7 separate regions of the Homo sapiens genome follow, and regions 2, 3, 4, 5, 6 and 7 are each linked to region 1. Evidence: promoter capture Hi-C in 16 types of primary human blood cells and fetal thymus (Javierre and others, 2016). All regions are on one chromosome and are shown on one strand. Each heading gives the region's core, a stretch centred on a gene start or on the middle of the fragment in contact. The rest is flanking DNA. Distances are from core to core; before and after follow the strand shown.

Region 1 (3,390 bases), core at 298-2,797:
TATACTAACAGTTTAATGTTTCATCCCCCACCTAAATGGCAGAGAGTGTTAATTCTAACAGGAGTCTTACATGTCTTACACTTTAGCAGTTTCAATCAAAAGATGAGCTATTTTACAATTTAAGGAAGAGGCCTTACACTGTTAAAATCTTGACCGATATGCTCAATGGCAGTACCATCATTGAATCTCCACCTGCTGCCTTACGTATCAAGAACATTTAAAAGTCTTTCTTGTTAGAGACAAAATAAAAGAAAAACTAAGGTGACAAGCGACTATGAGAAATAAGGCTTTAATCAGGTTAAATTTGCATTATGCAGCCTGCATGAATTTAGAGGTCCTAGAATCAAAACACTAGAAGGAACCTTTGATATGCTCTAGTTCAACAGACTGATTTTTGCAGAAGAGGAAACTGAAGCGCTGATGAGACCATTAACTGATAAAGCAAACCGCTTACTTTTTCAAAGGGATTCATTTCAATGCCATTTTACCCTTATTTTGCATCTCACTGTTGTTTCTCAGAGCGACGATTGACCTTTTTTTAGGTGAAAAGAGCGAATAGAGCGTATTAATTTCAAGAGGGTGAAAAATGCCTTTGAAGGAGGAGATGCTGGAGTGAAGAGGAGAAATGACGTCTTATTTAAAATATGTAACCCCTTGATGGGGTTAGACAATGAATCATATTCTCCTAGATTTTTCTATGTCTATAGACATCAGCCACAGTTCTTTCAGGCACTCAAACGAGAGGAAGAGGAAGTGAATAAAGCTCATACTAAATATATAGCACCCACTGAAGGCAGGGATGTAGACAGAAAGAACGGGGGTGGGGGAAGGAAGGAAAGCACGCTTCGCCAGGATCCAGCTGTTTTCTAACAAACCTAAGCCTACGGAAGCTAGGAAGATATCGGAAGCAAGGAAGATATCGGAAGCGACGGCATCCCTCAAATTCGAGAGGGCGGATGCCTCTAGGGCTAGAGAGGCTCCCTAGCCCTCAGTTACAGAGCGACTGGGAGGGGACAAAATGGAGTTGAGGTTTAGGGGCACCCTAAAGGTCGTTTGGAGGTCTAGCAAGCACTTCATGGTCTCCTCCGGAAAGGGCCGTGGCAAAGCCTAGTACCCCGATCAGGAAGATGACTTCTGGCCCTCGGGATGCGGTGAGCGGCAGGAAGAGGCAGGCTGGGGTTCCGAGGACCCCAGAGTCCATCACAGGAGCAGATACAGTGACCTCGGGAATCTTCCCGGCCCCAGCGGAGGCGAGCGGATAGATAGCCCTGGCTCAAGGAAAAAAGCGAGCCGACTCCAGGAGCTGGAATGCCCACCCAACCTCCTCCCGGCTCAGGTGAGGTACGCCAGTCCCCCTCTGGAAATGGGGCCCTGGTACCGACAGGGCAGGGGTGCCGGGGCCGCAACCTCCCCATCCAGGGATACTCACCGGAGGGGCGGCCCACCGCGTCTTCGCAGCCGGCCGGCGCCTGGCACTCGGAAAGCTCGCAAAAAGGAACCGCGTGCCCGCTAGCGCTGGGACGAGGAGGAGCGCGCGGCGGAGGCCAGAGAAAAAGCCGCAGCGGCGCGCGCGCACCCGGACAGCCGGCGGAGGCGGGACTCAGCGCGAGCCCGGAAAAGACGCGCCCGGAGGGGCGGGCGGAGCGGGGGCGCGCGGTGGTGTGGCAGAGCCAGCCGAATCGCTGGCTGCAGACGGCTCGGCCCACCCACGCGCCCGCCCCCGCTCGCCCGGGACGTCAGTCGAAAAGGCGGAGCCGAACGGGCTTCCCGGGGCGCGGGAGGGGCGCTGCGAGGAAGGCGAGGCGGCTAACGGCTCGCCTCAAGTTGTTGCTCCCGCTGGCGATCCGCTTCTGTCAGTCTCGCTGCTGGTGTCGTTGAGTGTGTTTCGGGATGTCCTTGCGCCTAACAGCAGTGAGGCGCAGAATTGGCCCACGCCCTCACCTGCGGCTTGCTTCGCAGGACTCCACCCCAGGATAAAAGTTCCCCTCGGGTCATCTTCCAGCTGCCCTCAAAAGACACTCATTTTTGGGTTTCACTGCTCCTCTTTAAGAGAGCTATCTTGAACACTTTGACTAAAAGCATCTTGCTCCTGTAAGCCTGAACTAATGCCTCTCATCCGTTTATCTTGCCTCTTACTGCGTTAAGATCCCCGCTCACTCCCACTGATGAAATATCACAAGGACGCAGGATTTTCACGTTGTCTTTCATTTCCACGATGGTATCATGGCAAAAAAACCCCCAACTGATAAGGAAAAGTCACCGCAGCTTTGTGACATCTTACTAGCCCTGATCATTGCTTATAAGCCGGTCATACGAATGCTGTTCCAACAGATGCAAGAAATTGCTATTAAAATTAAAATGCCAGCGAACTATCTGAGGGCTTCAAAAGGGACAGACCATAATTGCAAATGAGGCCTGATAAACTGCCAAGAATATATCACCCAAAAAAATAAATCTCAAGAATTCTTCCAGTTCCCTGATGCGTAATGGTGAACTAGCTTCCTGTTCCTGATGGTAATTGACATTTCACTTCACTTGCTGATTTCCATTTTCCCATAGAATTACCATTTGTGCTTGTGTGTGTGTATATATATATGTATATATAAAATGCCTTACCACCTGAGATTACAAGCTAGAGTAGTTCTTCAGTGTGCATCACAATTATCTGGGGTGCTTGTTGAAATGTAGGTACCTGGAGCTACAACCCCCAGGTATTTTGATTCTGATCTGGGTAGGGATAAGAAATTTGAATTTTTAATAAGCAGCCCAGGTGACACTAAAAGTGGTTAGCTGAGAGCACAGAGCTATAGTTTTTGTGTTACTACTCTAAAGCCATATTACCAATTCAATTTCCAAGAAACCCACCCACTTACATATAATATACCTATAAATATTGCTAAGACAGTCATGTAGCTTCCTTTTTCAAGATTGACCTACAAAGTTCAGTACTTCAAACAACGAGTTTAATTGTCATGTTTATTTTATGAAATCTTGTTTTAATACCAGAAATAAGCAATCATATGTCAGGTACGTAATTCACTGGGTAACTATGATGTACAGAGCACTATCACCTACAGTTGGGTTAACACAAATGAAATTGAAGAAATGAATATCGCTGTTCTCAATAAAGTTAGTGTCTAGTTGTGGAATTAAAATATAGATATAATACAAACCCAGTGTAGCACATAAATCAGTGTGCTGGATGAAGATGAAAAAGAACTTGTAATTAAAGAGTACTTTTGCCAGTTTCCTTTATTGTCGGTCTCTTAGCCCAGACATTTTCAATTAGGTAATTTCCTCTGAACAGAGTCTTCAGCTTACTGAAGTTCCTCCAGCTCTACAAGATATAAAGGAAAGAAATCACTATAGCCTGAAACTATCCGTTTTTTG
Region 2 (3,390 bases), core at 321-2,820, 510 kb after region 1:
AGCTCTGAGTTATTCCAGTTAGGTAACATTTTTCTATAGAATATTATACAAGTTATAATCCATACTGGGATAAAACTAAGCATTGACTACTAATTTTCTAAATAAATACTAAGAAATAAATGTAGTCATAAAACAATTTGGACACTTGTCTGAAATTGTTTCACTACTCAATGCTAGGCTATTACAGTATATTAGCATTAAAATACATGTTTACAATTGTTATTTGAAATGGTTCTTTCTAATAATGTGTACAATAGCAACCGCCCTGTCATTTTCACTGAATTTCAGAGCTTCTCTTCCTTTCAGAAAATACAAGTCAACGTCTGTACCAAAGGAACCATCTAAATTGTTTTGTGGTACTAGCTATTCATTTTCACTGCATTATATGAATGTTGCTCAAAACTGAGTGATCCCAGAAGATAGCTGGAAATGTTAATTCCTTTGTTAATGTAAATTACTACAATGAGAACTGGACTCTGCCTCCAGGAAACCTTCCAGCCACCTAGCTTTGAGAGTCTGGGCAAGTCAAAGAAGCCAAGGTGTCACAGGGCATTCCTACACACATTGCAGAGGACCCTTTGGATACAGTTACACCAACCTAAGAGTTTCATAGTTAGGACATCACTCAGCTACAATATAAAAACAACTCTTGTAAATTGGAATCATATTCCCAAACATCTGGAAAATTCCCCAAAGGAGAAAAGATTACCCAAAAGTATTGCTAAATAGATGGAAGATGCTGATTTTTATCATAATCAAAATTCAGTCAGTTTCCATTGTACTAGACAAATCAACAGATGTGTTGTTTACCTTTAAAGATGCCTGGAATCTATTTTAATTCAGCCTTGAAACCCAGACATTCTTAGGTAATAAGAACAGATATTTAAATTCCATAACAACCGCCCAATGTTTACAAACATTTATTTCTTTATAGATTTCTTATCCACAAAATGTATTTTTGGTTAGAAAGAAGTTTGAGGATTCAGCTGTATTTTCTAAGCTTTGCTTTGTGGCATGGCCTAAGAGAAAATAATGATATCAAGGGTCTTTTCCAACTATTTTATTTATTTTAATTTTAAATAAAATATTTAATAAGATACAATGTATAATAATGTATTACTCTATTTCACTCTCACTACCATATCCTGAAAGCAAACAATTTTCAATAAATTCTTAATTTTAAAAAATCTTCAACATTCAAATTCAGAAAAAGATAATCTAGGATTAATTAAAAATTACTTTCACATTAAAAATGACTCTTTAACAAACAATGTGTCAAATGTGCTTCTTGTCTTGTGTTGCCTATCACCTTTCATCTTATCATCCTCCCCCTGCCCCATCATCTAAGAAGGAACCTTTGAAGCCATCTTCAACTCTTCCCTTTAGCTTACTTTCCACAAGTCTCATCTTGTTCAATTACTACCTTGTCTCTGTTATATGTTTCTTTACATCCCTCCTGTTACTAACCTAATTCAGGCCTCTACCATCTTTCATTTGGAATATTTAAGATTAGCTTCATAACTGCTTCTCTAATCTCTATCCTTTCCATTCCATCCTATATATTAATACAAGCAGCCCGAGTCAGGGTAATAGTAATAGTCAGGGATGTAACTTGGGCTGCTTGTATATATTTCTCTTCTCATATATATTTCTCTGTCTCCTTACATTTGGCTCAGGAAGTTTTCTGGATGCATAATGAATATCTTCTCCATATCCCCACTTTTGAATGTTGAAATTGAGTCGTATATGTCCATAGAGGTTCGGCTTACATGTCAGCTAGTCAGTAAAACCTTCCCCAATCTATCCAACTAGAGCTAATTTCTCCCACTTCCAGTAGCATTGTTTCTACATCTAATGCAGTTATTTTGTGTACATGCCAATTTCCCTCAAAAGACATCACTCAGCTCTTGAGCACAGACATCATGTACTGTTGATCTTTGTAGCTGCATAGTACCTAGTACAGTACCATGGTCAGAGTTAAGTGCTCGATAAATGTGGAATTGAACTGACTAAACCTTATGTCAGCCTGATATAAATGAGAAGGAAGACTGTCAGGATTTATAATAAGTTATGTATTTAACTACAGCTGTGTTGTTATAATTGCTACATATTTAGAGAAAACACTGAATGTATCTTTCAATCAAGCTTTGAAACTATAGTGACTATTCTAAGTTTGAATTATCTTATATAGAACAGCAAGAACACTCAAATCTGTAGGACATAATGCCAGTGAAAAAAGACCTTTTACAGTAGATTCAGCTGTACAAGTTCAACCAATAAACCACAAAGGCCATATTTTTTTAAAAAGCCAGAATATAAAGAGGGCAATAGTAAGCATATTAATGAAAACCAGCTAGGAGACACTGGATAGAGCTCACTACTTCTGAATCAGTCACTGCTCCTTGCTGCAGCTGGATTTGGATCTTCTCCCACTGAAGGGCTGAGTAGATGTGATCCCACTTAATTTCTAAGTCTGACAAAATCACAACTTGGAAGTGGCCTGACTACTGGCAATTGTTAAGCACAGTAAATCCCTTCTCCTTCTGTAACCCCCTCAAATGTCCTGCATTCACAACTCTTTTATACCAGATGTTTTGTTGAAATTAACACATTCCTATCAAATGCATATCAAAAGGACTTTTCTCCCTACTGCAATGGAGCTTTATTATATTGAGCATTCCATTTAACCTCCAAACTGTTTATTTGTTACATAGACACTTATTGTATAGTATTTATTGCAGGGGGAATGACAAGGGAAGCTGGGCTCAGCATAAGGTGGGATCCATTCAGGAGCAAATATTCCCACAGTTAATGATAGCAAACAAAAGCCCTTAGAAGACACATCTCAAAAGGACTTTTAAAAATTTGCTAAATACAAAATCTCCCAATCTCTAGCCCAAATCTTCTTCTTTGTGAAAAAGAGGTGAGGTACTGTTTTGTTTGTTGAATGCAAATTTTATTTTTGTATCAAGCAGAATCAAGCATAATTAACTAGATAATAAATGGCAGGATGTGAAGCTATGACCTAGGATTGCTCACCTGAAACTTTGGTCCTCCCAAAGTTTTCAGCCATCACAGAAAGATCATTTCTGACAAGCCATCACTCACTCACTAAACCTTTGTAGGACCAGGAACTACAACCGAAACTTCACAAAAATGACCATCTCTCTCGTAGGGATTTAAAAATAATATATGGACAGTAGTGCTACTGTGAATAAAATGTCCTTCATAAAACAATTTTAATAAGCAGCCCTCATGGCACCTCTTCTTATAAAGTGATTGTAAATTGCAATTGTCTGCTAGAAGTAATATATAGGATGTTAAATAGCATCCCCATTTCTTTTCCCCAGGCTATTTCTGTTTCTCATCTCATTTGTACAATTAGTACAT
Region 3 (3,390 bases), core at 469-2,968, 480 kb after region 1:
TATAATATATAAAAGATAATGGAAAGAAATATTCCAAAATGTTAACAGTAGTTATTCTCAGAATGGTGTAATTATAAATGACTCACATTTCTCTCATTATATGTTTTTAATTTAAAAAATTTTCTTCTTTGATAAGTTAAAATTGCTATTATGAACAGAATATATGTATAAAGTTTATTTTCCATTTTTATTGTAGTAAAATACACATAAAATTTGCCATTTTAACAATTTTAAAGTGTACAATTCAGTGGTATTAAATACATTCACAATATTGTACAACCACCACCACTATCTGGTTCCAGAACTTTCTCACCACTCCAAATGGCAACCCTGTACCATTAAGTAGTCACTTCCCATTTACCCCTCCCCCTAGCCCCTAGCAACTATTAATCTGCTTTCTATCTCTATGGATTTGCTCATTCTGGATATCTCACATAAATGGAGTCATACGGAATGTGGCTTTCTGTGTTTCACTTCTTTCACTTAGCATAATGTATTCATGGTTCATTCATGTTGTAGCATGTATTTCACTTCTTTTTATGGCTGAGTAATGTTCAATTGTATGAATATAACATATTCTATTTATCCATTCATCTGTTGATAAACATTTGGGATGTTTCCACCTTCTGGCTATTGTGAACAGTGCTGTTATGAACATTCATGCACAAGTTTTTGTTTCAACACTTCAATTCTTTTGGGTATATACCTAGAAGTGAAATTGTGTCAACGTATAATTTTTTAATGCCTTTAATTCCATTTTGGCATTCTGTGTTTAGTAATGCTTTTTCAGAATCATTAAGGATAACCCTTAGAATATCATTCCCACAATACTATTACTCCATTTTCAATCACTGAGTAAGGTACATATTTTTTTAAGACCAAATCACATTCTTGTACTTAAAAATATAATTTCCACCCTTATTCGTTGTATACAAATTTCTCTTCTGCCAAATACCTGAAACAATGATGAACTAACTGAAAAGGATGGGCTTTTCCTCTTAGCATAGCCATTCTAACAGTAACTAATTCACTTTCAAATACTTGTATATTAAAAGTAAAAAAAAAAAATGGGGGCCAGGCACGGTGGCTCACGCCTGTAATCCCAGCACTTTGGGAGGCCGAGGTGGGTGGATCACGAGGTCAGGAGATCGAGACCATCCTGGATAACACGGTGAAACCCCATCTCTACTAAAAATACAAAAAATTAGCCAGTCATAGTGGTGGGCGCCTGTAGTCCCAGCTACTCAGGAGGCTGAGGCAGGAGAATGGCGTGAACCCAGGAGGCGGAGCTTGCAGTGTACTGAGATCACGCCACTGCAGTCCAGCCTGGGCGACTGAGCGAGACTCTGTCTCGAAAAAAAAAAAAAGTGTATTTTTTGCTTCAATAGGGAACTAATACTTAATAGAAATTAATATTTAAGCCCCCTAAAATATATTAAATACACAATACCAAGTAGGAACAATATAGAATCTTCTGGAAATTCAGGCTGGCAGATGGTGACCAAAGAGGATAAATATGCCTTGAAAGAGTATATAGTGGAGTACACAGTACTACTTCTTAAGGGCTTTACATCCCACTCTCCTAACAAACAGAAAGCTGATGTATCTTTTGGACATAATAGTCCAATAATATCAAGGTTAATTTTAGCTGTAGATAGTGCTTTAACTGGGCTAAAGATGATGATGATGTACTCGGTGCTTAACCATGCCTATGTAACAGCTGTTGTATTCTCCCCTTTTTCCTTCCCCCAAAACACATGCACACACATTTATGTAATACTAGTATGTTCATGTTTGTGACACACACACATGCACACACACAGAAACACACATGCCAGAACTGTACTTCCAACTCAGTAGCTGCAAGAGTAGAAGTGTTCTTGTAGCTTGGTCATCCCCCTTGGATCTCAGGCTTTTCCCATATAATCACTCCCATCCCCACTACTACATACACAACACCCTGCAATCCAGAAAGCAAAAGTAAATCTGGCTGCGGAAGAGGAAACAGCAGCCTTAAAACAGTAAAAGAACCACCCAGACTATAATATATGTTAATAAGTAGGGAACATGATTTGGGGCTGTTTAAAAATAAAGTACTAAGGAATATTTCCATAATATTTGTAGACTTTTCTTTAAGAAAAATCAAGTAAGAACAACAAACTTATAGCAAATAATAAATCAGAAATTTCAAGTTTACAAAAGGTTTTCTACATTCCAACTTTGGTAGGAACAACAGTATAAATTTATTTTATTTCTTCCTTTGCAAAAATCCTAAGATGTGTTCATATTCTGATAATGCTCCAGAAAATCTTAGCACAAAACCCAGAGGGGACTCTAGCATTGTACTCTCTGTAGAAAAGTTTTTTTTCACCCCACCCCCTAAAACTTTTTAAATAGCTCTGGTATAACAACAATAATTTATATCATAGAGTTTTTTTTCAAATGAAGAACCTTATAAATGTCTTATTCTGTATATTGGAAAACTGAATTGCAGTGGAGTAAGTAAATTGTTCAAAGTCTCACAAGGAATCAGGGCAAAGCCAAAATTAAATTCAAGTCTAATAAACTGTGAAGACAGTGATCTGTCTCCAAGGCAGAATAGTTCAGTTACTATGGGGGATGGTCCTTCTAAAACAGCAGAAGAATTAAAATCTGTCATAAGGATACAATAATGCCATTTATGAGTGTATGTGTGAGAGAGAATGTTATGTTTATCACTGAGTTCCCATTGTTTCATTCTCATAGCACTTATTTCTTCATACTTTCTATACACATTTACTCGCCACTAAATTATGACATGCTTCATGGTGGGAACCAAATCTTACCACTTTTATACATGGAGCACATTGCCTGGAATAAAACAGGCATTCAGTAATATGGGCATGCTTGTGTGTAAAATTTCATAGACCCAATAGACCTACACTCAACATCTCCTCCCAGCCACCAAAGCAAATCATGGTGAGAACCTTTGAACTTCACTAACAATGTTAGCCAACCCCATGTACTAAAGAAGAATAAAAATATGATCAATATAAGCTACTCTAACAATAGCAATGCACAGAGATACCCTAGAAATAACCTTAGTATTATTTGTTAGAGTGTTTAAGTGTATAAACTAAGGTAGCCAAGAATGAATTCACATTATTTAACTCTAGTTAATCAATACCTTGTTGTTATCACAAGCTGATTCCCCCAAATGGTGTATTATCCTAAATATTTCTTCTTGTTTCTGAGATGTATCCTCTGACCAACTAGTTACTTAGTGGCGGTTATACCAGAGTGCACCAGAATGAAAGTAAGAGGAGAAATAAATTCCAGTCAGTCCTTCTTATTACTTATTAACAGCTTTTATGAGGTGCTTTGGTGAGGTAGTAGGAGAAAAATGAAAAC
Region 4 (3,390 bases), core at 291-2,790, 460 kb after region 1:
GTGAGGATGTAGATTGGCTTCAGAACAGTGCTTGAGACCTAATGTGATTCCCTCCAATTCTTGAAAGAGTTCTTCCAACAAGTTTGAGGTTTGAACACGAGATTGTCCCATGGGGCTACAGGTGTCAAGGCAGGCCTTTTAATGCAGTAGCCAAAAATAGTATATCCAGGGCTTTCCTCACTTGCATCCTCCCATTCATTTCTTCCTCCTGTAGGTGAAAAGCTTGAGCATACAGATGGGAAGCTATGAGAGCTTACCCAACCCAAACCCATACTTATCTTGGCTTATGTGGTTGAAGCTGCAGGAAGTGGGAGAAGCCATTCTCTGAATGGGCAGTCATTCACTGGCTGTCCTGGCTGGCAGCTCTGAATCCCGGTGTGACTTCTCCACCGCAGACTTCTCCTTACCTCACACTGATAGGACCCCTTAGATAGGGTAGTATTTCCCAGCAACAGAGGGGCACTGCTTCATCCTACACGCCCATACTTGCCCTCGGAAGCAGTAAAGCTATTTACACAGGGTCCAGAGGGGCATGAAATCTAAAGTGGAAATGCTGAAACTCTGGGAAGAATTTAGGTAGGTGGAGTGTGATTACTGAAGTTGAAATTTGTCCAGACCAGAGTTAACCACTAATGCTGTAAAAAAGAATGCTGTGGGCTCATTAAACTACTTCATTCTACCTGAACCTATTAATATGGTCGAAATCATTGAAAAATCTTATGTCCCATTAAACATGAATGATGAAAATAGGTAAAACCTGAGCAGATGGCTGCCTTTATGGAGCACTGGTTAAAACCACAATAGTCCTCTAGGATCTAAGAACACTTTTTAGCCACTGTGATTGACATAAGCACGTGTCATAAAATTTACATGGTTACCAGGGCTTTGGGGCAATGTAACAGAAATTGTCCTGGATATATTCAACTAGCAGCTAATCTTGAAATGTGCGTGAGACAGCAAATGTTTTAGAAAGAGCCAGAGGTATTTCCATACACAAGTACAATGTCCTTGGTAGCCTTTCCATAGAGAAAGGGATAAGGCAACAGTAGGCAGAGGCAGCACCCCAAGAGATTCCTTTCTTGACATAGGCTCTTATCTGGCCCTTGAAAGTCAATACCACCAGTTGCCCTACCCTACAATCCAGGTGTTTCCCCCAAGCCCAAGTTGGGGGTACCAATCTGGAACTGGAAAAAATAGCTGGTAATAAGTGTAAGCGTGTGGTATGCCTAGTGTGTGTATGAGTACGTACAAGCTCTGGGTGACCACATCTTGAGCATTTTCAGACTCTGTCCTATACTCAGAAAATGGGCAAGCCTTGATGGTAGGAGAAGGGGTCCCCATATCAGATGATTTAACTGAATAGCACTGCTACTGCCCCTCACCAGCTCACAAAGAGGAAATGCCCAATAACCACTGACTGATTTGGAGCGGACCTAAGCACAGCTAAGCTCCCGCCAGAATTCAAGTCTGATATTTGCCTGAGTTCTGTGGCAAAGGATCTGAAGGATCCTTAAAGGATCAATGTGGCCAGGTTAGGGTGTCCAAATAAAGGCTAATCTATATCAGCAAGCCAGGATTCAGAGATAGACAAAAGGATGACATTGGCAAATCATATGGCAGGGAGTGGCTACAAGCAGGTAAGGTTTCCCAAGTGCTAGTTTGGCAATAAATCAGTATCTGTTCCTAACTATATTCCTTCAGAGCCTTCAACTGTTAACCTTTTAGTAAGAAGTACCGACGAGACCAAGATCCTATGATGAGAGAGGTTAAACTTAAAAAAGAAACATAAAATGATAACTCGGTTTTAACATTTTATTGGGTAAATGATTTTAAAGGTAATAACAATAGTGTCAAAACTACTACAATATCTTTCCACAGCCATACCTTACAGACCCACATAAACCTTCTCATATTTTTTCTTTTTGCTCATATTTAATATTGTAAAGCCATACATGTCATATAAAATGCCCATTTCCAATAGTTTCTTCAAACTATTAAGCAATTAAATGTGGAAGGAAGGAGGGCCTAGTTATACTGGAAGGGGTTTCAGGTAATCTGTGATGTCTTACGGTAATCAAAAAACAGGTTACTAAGAAAGAAGGAAAAGAGGAGCTACTCCAGGTAGCTTTTTGCTCATTACAAGTCTCACCATTGTATCACCAAGAACTCATTATGCTGGTGACAGATTCAAAGTAATTTTGGGGAACATATAAAACACTAAAATAACTTAGAAACTAGATCCAAATATTTCAAAAGTAATCAACTTTGATATACAAAAGTAGTCAGAGGTGGTTACAAAAGTTTGTTTGCTCAGTGCGTCTATGTACCAGCGCAGTTACTGGGTAGAGCAAAATAAAAGGTTCATTTTCTTCTGAAATAGCAATAAAAAACAAGGAAAACATATATTTGTATATAAAGGATCAATGCTGGTCTTAAGAATAATGTCATCAGAAACCCTTAAATCGAGAGGCACACAACGGGTTTCCACTTTTAAAAAATAAAAGGAAAGTCACCAGTTTATTTAAATGGAGGAGGTGCTCACACCCCTCAAATAAACTTAATTCATTTTAACATCACTAGCAAAAATCACTTAGAAACTGTACAAAAATAAAAAAGTTAACACATTTAATCCTGCAAGGTTTTTGTAAGGACTGGAAGGCAGGCTTTTGAAGCAGCATTTGGGCATGGCTGGGGGCTTCTTTGGTTTGATCTAACACACATAAGAGATGGAACCTATTCCAGATGACAGTTTCAAATTTCCTGCACATTTGAAGACAAGATAAGAGGCCAGTATACAAACTTCCGGTGTGCTGGGCACTGGGACTGTATGTGCTGGACTGAAAATCTTACAACTGCTTTAAGCTTTAAGGGTGAGGGGAAGCAAGCCTTGCACTTCCTCCATCAATTTCACTGACCTCTCGTGTTAGGGGAGACTACAGAGGGTAGTAGCACATTCTCGTGCAGTCAGAAGGCCACTTGAGGGGTGGGGGACAATTTGTTCTTTTAGAATCTGGTACCTGGCTGACCTTGTTTAAGAACAAGAAAACCCTTCCAGAAATGGAAGCCTTTTGCTACATACCAAAGCAAAGTACGTACTATTTCCAAGAGGAAAAATACCCAGTTGCATCTGAAAATGGAAAACTTAAATGGAACGAATTAACATTTAAAAGGGGCTATGTAAACTTTGTGCTACTCAAATGAAGTTCAAGTATTACTTCTGAGCTGTTTAAAGATCACTGAACTCATACAATATTCTGATGATAAGAGTGCAATTCACATTTGTGTTTCTGAACAAATAAATCACAACTGGCTAGAACACAACCTGTGCAATCAGAATCTTCGTCTGAGTTAAAGACATGCTACATATTTCAACATGTTCAAAGTTAATTC
Region 5 (3,390 bases), core at 307-2,806, 420 kb after region 1:
GTGTTTGAAACCAGGTGGGCAGAGATGCCTCTATGCTGCCTGTCCATGGAGTCGCTGGATTCAGACAGACTGTAGGTACAAATCCTAGTTATCCCACTTGCTAGTTAGTTCTGGCATTTGGTCGAGTACCTTGACCTCTCTGTGTCTGTTTTCTCACTTGCAAAATGAGGGTAGTAATAGTACCTACCTCATAGGGTGTTATGAGGATTCACTGAGCTGATACATGAAGAGTATACAGAACAATGACTGGCACATAGTAAATACTATGTATTGGGTTTGTATAATTATTAATTACCCACTGTTCTGCCTTGTGTTAATTATTCATCTTTCTTCCAACTAGACTGCCGTCTCTAGAGGTCAGGATTGTGCCTTGCTGTGTTCTAAAGCCGCAGAACCTTGCATGAACTGAGAGCATGCTTGTCAGTGGATGTAACATTACTGGTCCTCCCTCCTTTGAGACACTTGTTTCTCCTTTGAGCTCCAGGGTACCTCTTTCTCCTGGTTCTCCTACTTCTCTGGTTCTTTCTCCTTGGGCTCTTTTGCTCTGCCTGCCCCATAGATCCTGGTGTTCTTCATCAATAGAGATAACACAGGCTTGAGAAGCAGTACAGGTACTTCAAAAATAACAATTAGACTCCTCATTTCTGTACCCCTTCTCTCATCCTGCTTGTCTTCCTCCTCTGTTTCCTGTCTTGGTTAGTGGCTCTACTCTCCATCCACTACCAAAGCAAAAAATGTAGGCAACATCCTAGATCTCTTCCTCTGCGTCTTCCCATTTACCAATCAGTTCAGAAGTTCTGACAGTTTAAATTCTCAAAATTGTTTGCAAATTTGGCCCTTCCTCCTCATCCTCACCACCCCTGTCCGACTGTGGGCTCTCAGCCTCTGTTACCAGGACTACTTTGCTTCCTCTCTCCTCTCCCTGCCCCCTGATTTCCCCTACCTCCTACCCAGGCTATCCTCTATACAGTCTCCAGAGTGACCATTTTAAGGAAAGAGGAAATCTGATCTGATTTTGCTCAGCTGCTTAAAAATCCCATCCAGGATGAAGACCAAACTTCTTTGCATAGCATTCAAGACCATTCACAGTCTGATTCTTGTCCATCTCTTTGGCCTCATTTCTCATTGCTTAGACTCCGATTCTATCACTTTACCTTCTGGTTTTTATTTGTTTTGTTTTTTTAGAGATGGGGTCTTACTATGTTGTCCAGGCTGGAGGGCAGTAATGCAATCATAGCTCACTGCAGCCTGGATCTCCTGGGCTCAAGTGATCCTCCTGCCTCTGCTTCCCAAGCAGCTGAGACTGCAGGTACATACCACTGTGCCCAGCTCATTACTTTACTTTCTGAATAAACTTATCTGCTGACAGGTTTGCCCAGCCTTCCTTGCTTTGTGTCCAGGCTCATACTATCTATTCTACTTGAAACCTGGCAAACTTCGTGTGTTCCTTTGCAAGTTAGCTCAAGGGTACTACCTCCTCTCTGGAGGTGTCTCTGACTTTCCTAGGCAGCCAAGGGCATGTATTCCTTAATGTGCCTTTCTCCTTGTACTTTTATTATACTTTATTATAATATGCAGTAACCACCATTTCTAGTTGTCTGTATTTTGCCACTAGGTGGCAGTAGTCACATCTTTTCGGGAGATTAAGATAATTAATATTGGATATTGATTTATTTTATTTATTAAAGATGTTGATTAATAATTGTTGTAATTGAGGTGCTATGGGAATAAGGATGCGGGTAAAATCCGTGAGGCCCCTGAATTTTGGCCTGAGTGACTGGGTGGGATAGAGTATCATTAACTGAGAAGAGGGCGCAGAAGGAAGGAGCATGTTTTAGAGAGTGTCTTAGTCTTTTTGGCCTGCTACAACAAAAATGCTATCAACTGAGTAGCTTATAAACAATATAAATGTATTTCTCGCAGTTCTGGAGGCTGGGAAGTCCAGATCAAGGTACCAGAAGATTCAGTGTCTGGTAAGGGCCTGTTCCTCCTAGATGGGGTCTTCTCACTGTGTTCTCACACGTGGAAGGGGCAAGCAGGCTTCCTTGGGCATCTTTTATAAGGGCACTAATCTCATTCATGAGGGATCCACCCTCATGACCTAATCAGCTCCTAAAGGCTCCACCGCTTAATACCATCACATTGACCATTAGGTTTCAACATGAATCTGAGGAGAGGAACATAAACATTCAGACCATAGCAGCGAGGAAGATGATTTTACTTGAGTTTGAGGTGCTTATAGGCTATCTAGGTTGAGATGCCCAGGAAGCATTAGGATAAAATATTCTGGAGCTGTTCAGGGGAATCTGGACTAGACACTGACTTTAGTATCAGTGGTTATAGAACTAGTAGATGAAAACATTGGAATGAATGAGCTGGTCCAGGGTAACTATGTAGGTAGGGATAAAATAGGACTTAGAGAAAGCCTTGGGGAACATCAACTTGCAAACAGTAGACAGAAGAAGAAGAGTGTAAGGAGATTGCAGGAAAGATCAGTGATAGAAGGAGAGGCTGGTTGTCCTGAAAACTAAGGCAGTAGAAATTTTTCCCAAAGTGGTATTAGCCAAGCCATGTTGGATCTAAGAGGTACAGTAAAATCAGGTCCTCAGAGAAGTGGGAATTACAGGGAAGAAGTTAAGGGCATTAAGGAAGGAGGGGTTAAGGGTGTTACAGAGCCAAGGGAGGGTGTTTCTCCTCCTCCTTTCTCCCCCTCCCTTTCTCTCCTTTTCACCTCCTTTTCCCTTTCTCTCTGCCCCAGGGCTGAGCATGTTCAAATGCTAAACTGAAGCCCAGTAGAGCCAGGGAACATTGAAGGTACCAGAGAGAAAGGGGAGTGGATGAATTACAAGTTGATGACAACTGCTGAGAATGACAGGGGTTTGGTGGTGGATTGAGAAGGGTAATGACAAGAGAAATAAGTGCTGTGGGAAATGGAAGAAGGAGATAAGCCTAGACTCTCTCAACACTGTCCAATAGAATTCTCTGTGATGATGAATATATCCTATATCTGTTCTATTCCACATGGTAGCCACTAGCTACATTTGGCTTTTGAACAGTTGAAATGTGCCTGGGGGGACTGAAGAGTTGGATTTCTCATTCGATTTTAAGGTTAATTAATTTGAATTGAAATTGATTGGTTGGTTGATTGATTGATTGATTGATTGATGAGATGGAGTCTCATCCTGCCGTCCAGGCTGGAGTGCAATGGCGAGATCTTGGCTCACTGCAACCTCGACCTCCCGGGTTTAAGCGATTCTCCTGCCTTAGCCTCCTGAGTAGCTGGATCTACAGGCACATGCCACCATGCTTGGCTAATTTTTATATTTTTAGTAGAGATGGGGTTTCACCATGTTGGCCAGGCTGGTCTCAAACTCCTGACCTCAAATGATC
Region 6 (3,390 bases), core at 301-2,800, 390 kb after region 1:
AGGGGAACATCACACTCTGGGGACTGTTGTGGGGTTGGGGGAGGGGGGAGGGATAGCTTTAGGAGATATACCTAATGCTAAATGACGAGTTAATGGGTGCAGCACACCAGCATGGCACATGTATACATATGTAACCTGCACATTGTGCACATGTACCCTAAAACTTAAAGTATAATAATAATAAAATAAAATAAAATAAAAAAATAAAATATCTGATAAAAAAAGTTTCATATTCAGGAACATTTCAGATTTCGGATTTTTGAATGCTATTTCTCTGATAACTAATGATGTTGAACACTTTTTCATGTACTTACTAGCTATTTGTATGTCTTTTTGGAGAAATATCTTTTCAGATCCTTTCCCAAATTTTAATTGGGTTGTTTTCATTGTTCAGTTATAATTGTTCTTTCTGGATATTAAACCCTTATCTGATATATAATTTGAAGCATTTTCTCCCATTCTGTGGGTTGTCATTGCATTTGCTTGATTGTATCCTTTGAGGCACAAAATATTTTAATTTTGATAAAGTCTAATTTCTCTATTTTTGATTTGGCTGCTTGTGCTTTTGGTATCACATCTAAGAAACTGTTGTCTAGTCCAAGATCATGAAGATATATGACTGTTTTCTTCTAAGAGTTTCATAGTGTTGGCTCTTACATTTAGGTCTATGATCCATTTTGAGTTAATCTTTATGTGTAGTGTGAGGAAGGGGTCCAAATTCATTTTTTTCATGTGGATATCCAGTTGTCCCAGCACCATTTGTTGAAAAGACTCTTCTATCCATCCCCATTGAAATATCTTGGTATCCTTTCTAAAAATCAATGAAAAATAAATGTGAAGGTTTATTTTTAGACCCTCAGTTCTATCTCATTTCTCTATATGTCTATCCATATGCCAGCACCACACTGTCTTGATTGCTGTAGCTTTGTAGAAAGCTTTGAAACTGAGTGTGCATTGTAACAAGATCTTCTGGGGATTAGTGTGTGTGTGTGTGAATGTTGAAAAGGGCTGGAAAGCAAAGTTGAAAGAAAGCAAAATGAGCAATATAGTGTTCAGATGATAAGGCCCAGGGGGATTGACTAGCCTGAGGCCACATAGCCAGTGATTGGCAGATCTTGGTTCAGCACTCAGGTCTTCTGACTTCCACATCAGTGCTCTTTCCACCTCCCCTGTTGCATAAGTACTGAATGAGATGCCTTTGGTTAATGGACACTCTGAGCAAGAGACTTCAGGGTTATTTAAGCAACTGAACTTTGCTCAATCGCCTCATCTGTACAACAGAAATATTACCTCTATCACTGGCTGGGCCTGGTGGCTCACGCCTATAACTGCAACACTTTGGGAGGCTCAGGAGGAAGGATCACTTGAGCCGAAGTGTTGAGACCAGCCTGGGCAACAAAGTGAGACCCTGTCTGTACAAAAAATAAAATAATTAGCCAGCCATGGTGGCATGTGCCTGTAGTCCCAGCTAGTCAGAAGGCCGATGTGGGAGGGTCACTTGAGCCCAGGAATTTGAGACCAGACTGGCCAACATAGTGAGACCGGTCTCTACCAAAATTTTTTTTAAAAAATTAGCCAGGCGTGGCGGTATGTGTCTGTAGTCTCACCTACTTGGGAGGCTGAGGCAGGAGGATCACTTGAGCCTAACAGTTCAAGGTTACCATGAGCCATGATCATGCCATACACTCCAGCGTGGGTGACAGAGTGAGAACCTGTAATAACAAATGGAAGGAAGGAAGGAAGGAAGGAAGGAAGGAAGGAAGGAAGGAAGGAAGGAAGGAAGGCAGGAAGGCAGGCAGGCAGGCAGGCAGGCAGGAAGGCAGGAAGGCAGGCTGGCTGGACGGAAAGAGGGAAGCAGGGAGGGAGGGAGAAAGGTACATCATAGTTATTATGAGGATTCAATGAAATAATCCTTTGTTGGGTGCCAACTGGCAAGATGAATTCAGTTTTCCATTGCATAAAAAGAATCGGGGGGTAGGCAGAGCTCCTCCTGAGGCCCATCTCTTACCTCAACAGGTGGCCTGCCAACCTCCCCTTAGGTCCCACACGCCTAGGACCTTGAGTGGAGTGAACTGAGACTTTAGGGCAAACTGAGGGTTTCTTTAGAAAGTCCAAGGAAAGAGTGATCACTTCTGGGTCCCGGTACTGCATGGGTGCCAGTTGAGGAAGCTTTGGTGGTAGGATCCGGCCAGAGGAGCTAACGCAGGAAAGGAGTTTGGGGTGGAAAAACTTCGTAAGCTAGGAGGTCCTATGATGTAGTGGATAAGAACAGGAGTGTATGTATATAATTTTATATTGTAGAAAATTGAAAGCATACACAAAAGTAGAAAAAATGTTCCCTAATGCATCTGTCACCCAGTTTCAATGATTGTCACCACATAGCCCATCTTTTTCTTTTTAACAATACACCTCACTCCACCACAAATCCATTCCACCCCCAACACAAACACCTATCCCTGGATTATTTGGAAGAAAATCTCATGTAATTTTAACTGTAAGTATTTCATTATGCATGTCTGAAATGTAAGGACACAGTAAAAAATAAACATTACAATACCATTATCATACCTATAATAACTAGCAATAATTCCTTAAAATCATCAAAGATACCTAGTCAGCAGAGCCCAGGCTTTTAATCTAGCCAAATCACTGTTCCAGTCTTCCTTCTACAGCATCAATAGCCTGTCTCAGAGCCTGTTTTACATTGTAAAATGAGGACGGTCATAACAATTCCTGAATCTTTAATAAGGTAATGCATGTAAAGTGCTTACCACAATGCCTGATACAAAGTAGTAAATGCTCAATAAAGGTTAGCTAAGATTATTTATTAATAATAATAGGAAATATTTGAGTTGCTATTAAGGTGCTTTTGAGAATGGCTTTGACTTAGAATCAAGAGGCAGATTTGGAGCCCAGCGAAATGATTGTTGCGGGGAGGAATAACGACAAAAACAAAACAAAAAAACTTTCAAAGTGGCTGAAAAGAGAGCACCGGTATGAACTGGGAAGTGGAGCTGCAGATGATGGCGTCCTGGTAATTTTCCTCCACTGTATGTAGTTTTTTCCCCCTGCAGTTCCCCTGGAGGAGAGAGGAGAACTGGCTCGGGTGGGGGTTGCAAATACTAGAAAGTATTCTGGGCAAGAAGGGGCACTGCAATCAAAGGGCTGGGGGCCCCCAGAGTCCTGGCTCAGGAGATGAAGTCTCAGGTTCCCTGGGCTCATGGGCCTAAAGCCCCACCTTGTGGGGAATGGTCTGAGTGACTCTGTTTCTGTGCACGGAGTTTGGAGGCATGAGGCAGGCTCACTACATCGTGTTAGAAACATTCCCATTGTTCAGGAATGGTCTTGCTCTCTGCTGCCAGTTCCAGGCATCAGCTGAAAGCTTTTTAA
Region 7 (3,390 bases), core at 311-2,810, 320 kb after region 1:
TTGCCTGAGAAAAGAGAACAAAAGGCCAACTCTGTGGCTTTCAATTTGCAGCGTCCCCAGCCCTTTTATCCATCTCAGTGCTTCCCTGGTTGGGAACAAAACCCAAGCTCCAGGGTCAGAGCACATACGGAGGAAGAACCCTTTTTGAAAATCCAAGCACATGAGGAATTCATGTTTCATTGTCATCCTGCTTTGCAATTGGGTCAGGTACATATGTGGGGAGGAGAGAGTGGGCTTGGAAGAAAAAAAATTGGTTTGTTACCTCCACAAAAGCAGACATTCTGATTTTCCCCCAGAAGTTCCATTAAGAAGAAAGCAAGTTTTTAAGGGTTTAATTGCTAATTCAGGGTTGCTTTCAGCCATTAGGGCATCTGTATCAAGGCGCCTAGTTTGGGAGGTGGAACAGAAGTTTGACGTGCTAACATTTGGGAACTTTCTCAGACAGGATGTCTTTGTTATCTAATTTCTTTCCATTTTTCAGTACCTGCTTTCAGATTTCTACTTTTTCTCTTCTGCTTCCTTTGGTTTCAAATCACAGAAGACCTATCTCTTTGTGCTCCCAGCTTGTTGTCTTGGTTACAGGCTTCTTCAGCTTGCCTTCCTTTGAGGGGAATATACAGTGTAAAGAAGATTTTTTAAAATGGTGACTAAGGTCCCTTTCTCTAAGGTTACTGGGATATTAAGCAGTGGGTAGAACAGTGACTTGTAAACCCGGCTGTACATTGAAATCAGCTGGAGCACTTTAAAATACTGATGCCCAGGCCCCAGGCCCAACCAGTTGAGTAGGCATCTTGAGGAGTAGGCCCCAGGAATTTTTTTTTCTTTTATGAAACAATAAACTGCCTACGTGAGTCTAATGTGCATTCAGTATTTAGAACTGCTGGGTTTTACAGCAAAGCCAAACAACTTGGTTCTGGCTGTTTGAGCCAGGTGAAGGAAATAGAATCAACTTTTCTGTACCTTAGTTTTACCTGCCTAGAACAGAGAAGCACTAAAGCTTAAGAATTTAAAGAGGCTTACTGTGACCCCCCTGTCATTATTGTTGCATACAAAAGAGAGGTAACTTTCTTTCAAAAAAAAAAAAAGAAAGAAAGAAAGAAAGAAAGAAAGAAAATCCAGTTATTCAGCTGGCTTGGCTTCTGGGCTGTAACAGTGGCTTGAGGATTAAAAGAAATCTTTCCAGTTGCTTGAAGAAGGGTTATCTGTATGGAGGAACAGCAGCTTCATTCCCAGTGTGGTTTGGACAGCGCATTCCAGGTTTTCAAACCTGCCTCAGCTTCCAGCTGACTCCCTTCTCATGCCCCAGGTGGTTAGCAGAGTTAGGCACCATACTTATATTTTTAGTGAAATTGCCTTTTAATAGTATTTTCCTAACATAAAAGCAACAGATGTTCATGATTCAAGCCCGGAACATTATAGGAATATGACACATAGCAAACAAAAGTCCCCTAGAAGTCGGTCTCCCAGACATATCCATTGTAAGCATGTTTTTCCTTCTGATTTTTATCTCTGCATATGCTAAACATTTTATATTTTTATTCTAAAAATGGGATCATTCAACAATGTTTGTATTTTTTTTTCCTTAATATCTTAGCCATCAGTCCATGTTAGTACATATAAATCAACCTCATTCTTAAGGACCCCTGATTCTTAGGATTTTAGTCACACAAGGGCACAATCTCCTTCCGCTTCCCTCCAAGATTTTGCTTTCCTATGGAAAGGCTTGGGTTTTGTTTGTTTCTTTGGGCTTCAAATAGAGCAAATCCATTATATCTGGTATATTTATGTTTGGTTGTTATTTAAAAATTCATACAATTTTAAAGGAATAGAATAGCATATATGATTCCCTCCAACCTCTGACCCCTGATCCACTAGTTCTTCTCCCCAGAAACAAACTGCCATTACCAGATTCTTGGAAATCCTGAGAATTACTGCATGCATAAACAAGGCTTGAATATTCTAAAATGGCTTTTGCTTAGGTAACCAAGTCTATCCATATTGTATGGAGACATCTTGTTTCATTTATTCATTCAGCAAGTACCTGATGAGCATCTCATATGTTCCAGGCACTGTGTTAAGTTCTGGACCTACAGTGAGGACCATCACACAGCTCCTGCTCTCCAGAAGCTTATGGTCAGCAGGGAAGATCAACATTTAATGAAAACATAGCTAAATATAAATGAGAAATGGTGATATGTGTTGTGAAGGAAAAGAACAGCATTTACATGCATCTGTTTTTTTTTTTTTTTTTTTTTTTGAGACGGAGTCTTGCTCTGTCGCATAGGCTGGAGTGCAGTGGCGCCATCTTGGCTGACTGCACCTTCCGCCTTCCAGGTTCAAGCGATTCTCCTGCCTCAGCCTCCCGAGTAGGTGGGGCTACAGGCATGCACCACCATGCCCAGCTAATTTTTTTGTATTTTTAGTAGAGACGGGGTTTCACCATGTTGGCCAGGATGGTCTTGATCTTTTCACCTCATGATCTGCCCACCTTGGCCTCCCAAAGTGCTGGGATTACAGGCGTGAGCCACCATGCCTGGCCTACATGCATCATTTTTTAAAACAGTGATTAATGGAGTCCCCTTTCCCAATTTTTTAATACAAAGGTGTGGATGGGAGATTTGCAGCAAAGATAGGAAAGCAAAGATATAACCCACAATCTTTACTCTTGCCAACAGCTCTTACCTTCTTTCCCACCAAAATTTTCCTTTGATAAAATGTCTTGCTGAGAGTTAGGCTAACTCACCAACCAGCTTTAATTTTGGTTGACAGGGTGCCGTAGAAGACCTTTGCTAGCCAGACTGTGAGCTTCTTGCAGACAGGAATTATGTCCTGCATCACTGTGTGCTCAGAACCTCAGGAAGAACAAACTGATGTAGGCACCAGGAAATAGGTGCTTTTATTACATTCTCATTTTATGCCTTAGAAGCACTGCAAATGGTAGGTATTCTTATTTCTGTTTTAAACAATGAGAAAACTGAGGCTTAAGGAGGTGTAAAAAATACTTTCTTTTAAAAAAAATACACCTCTCCCCCACCATCATAAAAACCCCAACTTTGGCCATAGAGTTCATTGGTGGTGGAGCACTGCAAACATTAGCTGTCCCATGTGGCTTTGACTCTGACACAATTGGTCCTCTTGCTTCAGGGAACTGGATACCATCCATCCCTCCCATGGGTTGGCCTAGGCTCTGTTACTTCAGAGTTTTCTTGACGAGTTTCAAGGTAACCAGGTCATCCTGTTCTACATATTTTTCTGGGATTGAGGTCAAGGAGCAGCATGATCCTCTCTTAAATGGGTCAGAGGAGGAGGACTCCTGTGGCTCCCTGAAAGGTCAAGCCCCTTCATGCTAACTACACCGTCTTCCCTTCTCTTCCAGCTTATGTCCTGGGC

What was found. Contacts are between HindIII fragments. The CHiCAGO score rates a contact against its expected background, and 5 or more counts as called.
Region 2: a fragment that was not itself captured here is called in contact with the fragment with the promoter of ACSL4 in region 1 in 2 of 17 cell types (total CD8 T cells and total B cells); the score reaches 8.0 in total CD8 T cells.
Region 3: a contact is called between a fragment that was not itself captured here and the fragment with the promoter of ACSL4 in region 1, in 1 of 17 cell types (non-activated CD4 T cells). The highest score is 6.2, in non-activated CD4 T cells.
Region 4: a contact is called between a fragment that was not itself captured here and the fragment with the promoter of ACSL4 in region 1, in 1 of 17 cell types (neutrophils). The highest score is 6.0, in neutrophils.
Region 5: a contact is called between a fragment that was not itself captured here and the fragment with the promoter of ACSL4 in region 1, in 2 of 17 cell types (total B cells and neutrophils). The highest score is 6.1, in total B cells.
Region 6: a contact is called between a fragment that was not itself captured here and the fragment with the promoter of ACSL4 in region 1, in 1 of 17 cell types (M2 macrophages). The highest score is 5.3, in M2 macrophages.
Region 7: a fragment that was not itself captured here is called in contact with the fragment with the promoter of ACSL4 in region 1 in 1 of 17 cell types (neutrophils); the score reaches 5.0 in neutrophils.

Annotation. Positions count from the first base shown.
Region 1 is chrX:109,731,710-109,735,099 of GRCh38, forward strand. It overlaps ACSL4 (acyl-CoA synthetase long chain family member 4), which reads right to left and starts at 1,548. Exons shown (of 16, transcript NM_001318510.2): 1 at 1,430-1,548. It overlaps LOC105373311 (a long non-coding RNA gene), which reads left to right and starts at 802. Exons shown (of 1, transcript NR_158569.1): 1 at 802-3,249. RefSeq lists enhancers at 911-960, 1,021-1,160 and silencers at 1,283-1,403, 1,501-1,810. The HindIII fragment of the contact is 5,191 bases long and covers 1-3,390 here.
Region 2 is chrX:110,242,733-110,246,122 of GRCh38, forward strand. All of the region lies in intron 2 of AMMECR1 (AMMECR nuclear protein 1), which reads right to left. Among named protein-coding and RNA genes, the nearest start is that of SNORD96B, 19 kb to the left of the region's middle. RefSeq lists an enhancer at 2,283-2,832. The HindIII fragment of the contact is 1,145 bases long and covers 999-2,143 here.
Region 3 is chrX:110,212,910-110,216,299 of GRCh38, forward strand. All of the region lies in intron 3 of AMMECR1 (AMMECR nuclear protein 1), which reads right to left. Among named protein-coding and RNA genes, the nearest start is that of SNORD96B, 10 kb to the right of the region's middle. The HindIII fragment of the contact is 4,263 bases long and covers 1-3,390 here.
Region 4 is chrX:110,192,388-110,195,777 of GRCh38, forward strand. It overlaps AMMECR1 (AMMECR nuclear protein 1), which reads right to left. Exons shown (of 6, transcript NM_015365.3): 6 at 1,799-3,390. Among named protein-coding and RNA genes, the nearest start is that of SNORD96B, 31 kb to the right of the region's middle. The HindIII fragment of the contact is 2,640 bases long and covers 221-2,860 here.
Region 5 is chrX:110,154,739-110,158,128 of GRCh38, forward strand. All of the region lies in intron 5 of TMEM164 (transmembrane protein 164), which reads left to right. Among named protein-coding and RNA genes, the nearest start is that of SNORD96B, 69 kb to the right of the region's middle. The HindIII fragment of the contact is 5,202 bases long and covers 1-3,390 here.
Region 6 is chrX:110,122,396-110,125,785 of GRCh38, forward strand. The region is part of intron 4 of TMEM164 (transmembrane protein 164); the gene reads left to right. Among named protein-coding and RNA genes, the nearest start is that of MIR3978, 42 kb to the left of the region's middle. The HindIII fragment of the contact is 1,234 bases long and covers 934-2,167 here.
Region 7 is chrX:110,050,512-110,053,901 of GRCh38, forward strand. All of the region lies in intron 2 of TMEM164 (transmembrane protein 164), which reads left to right. Among named protein-coding and RNA genes, the nearest start is that of MIR652, 3.1 kb to the right of the region's middle. The HindIII fragment of the contact is 1,130 bases long and covers 996-2,125 here.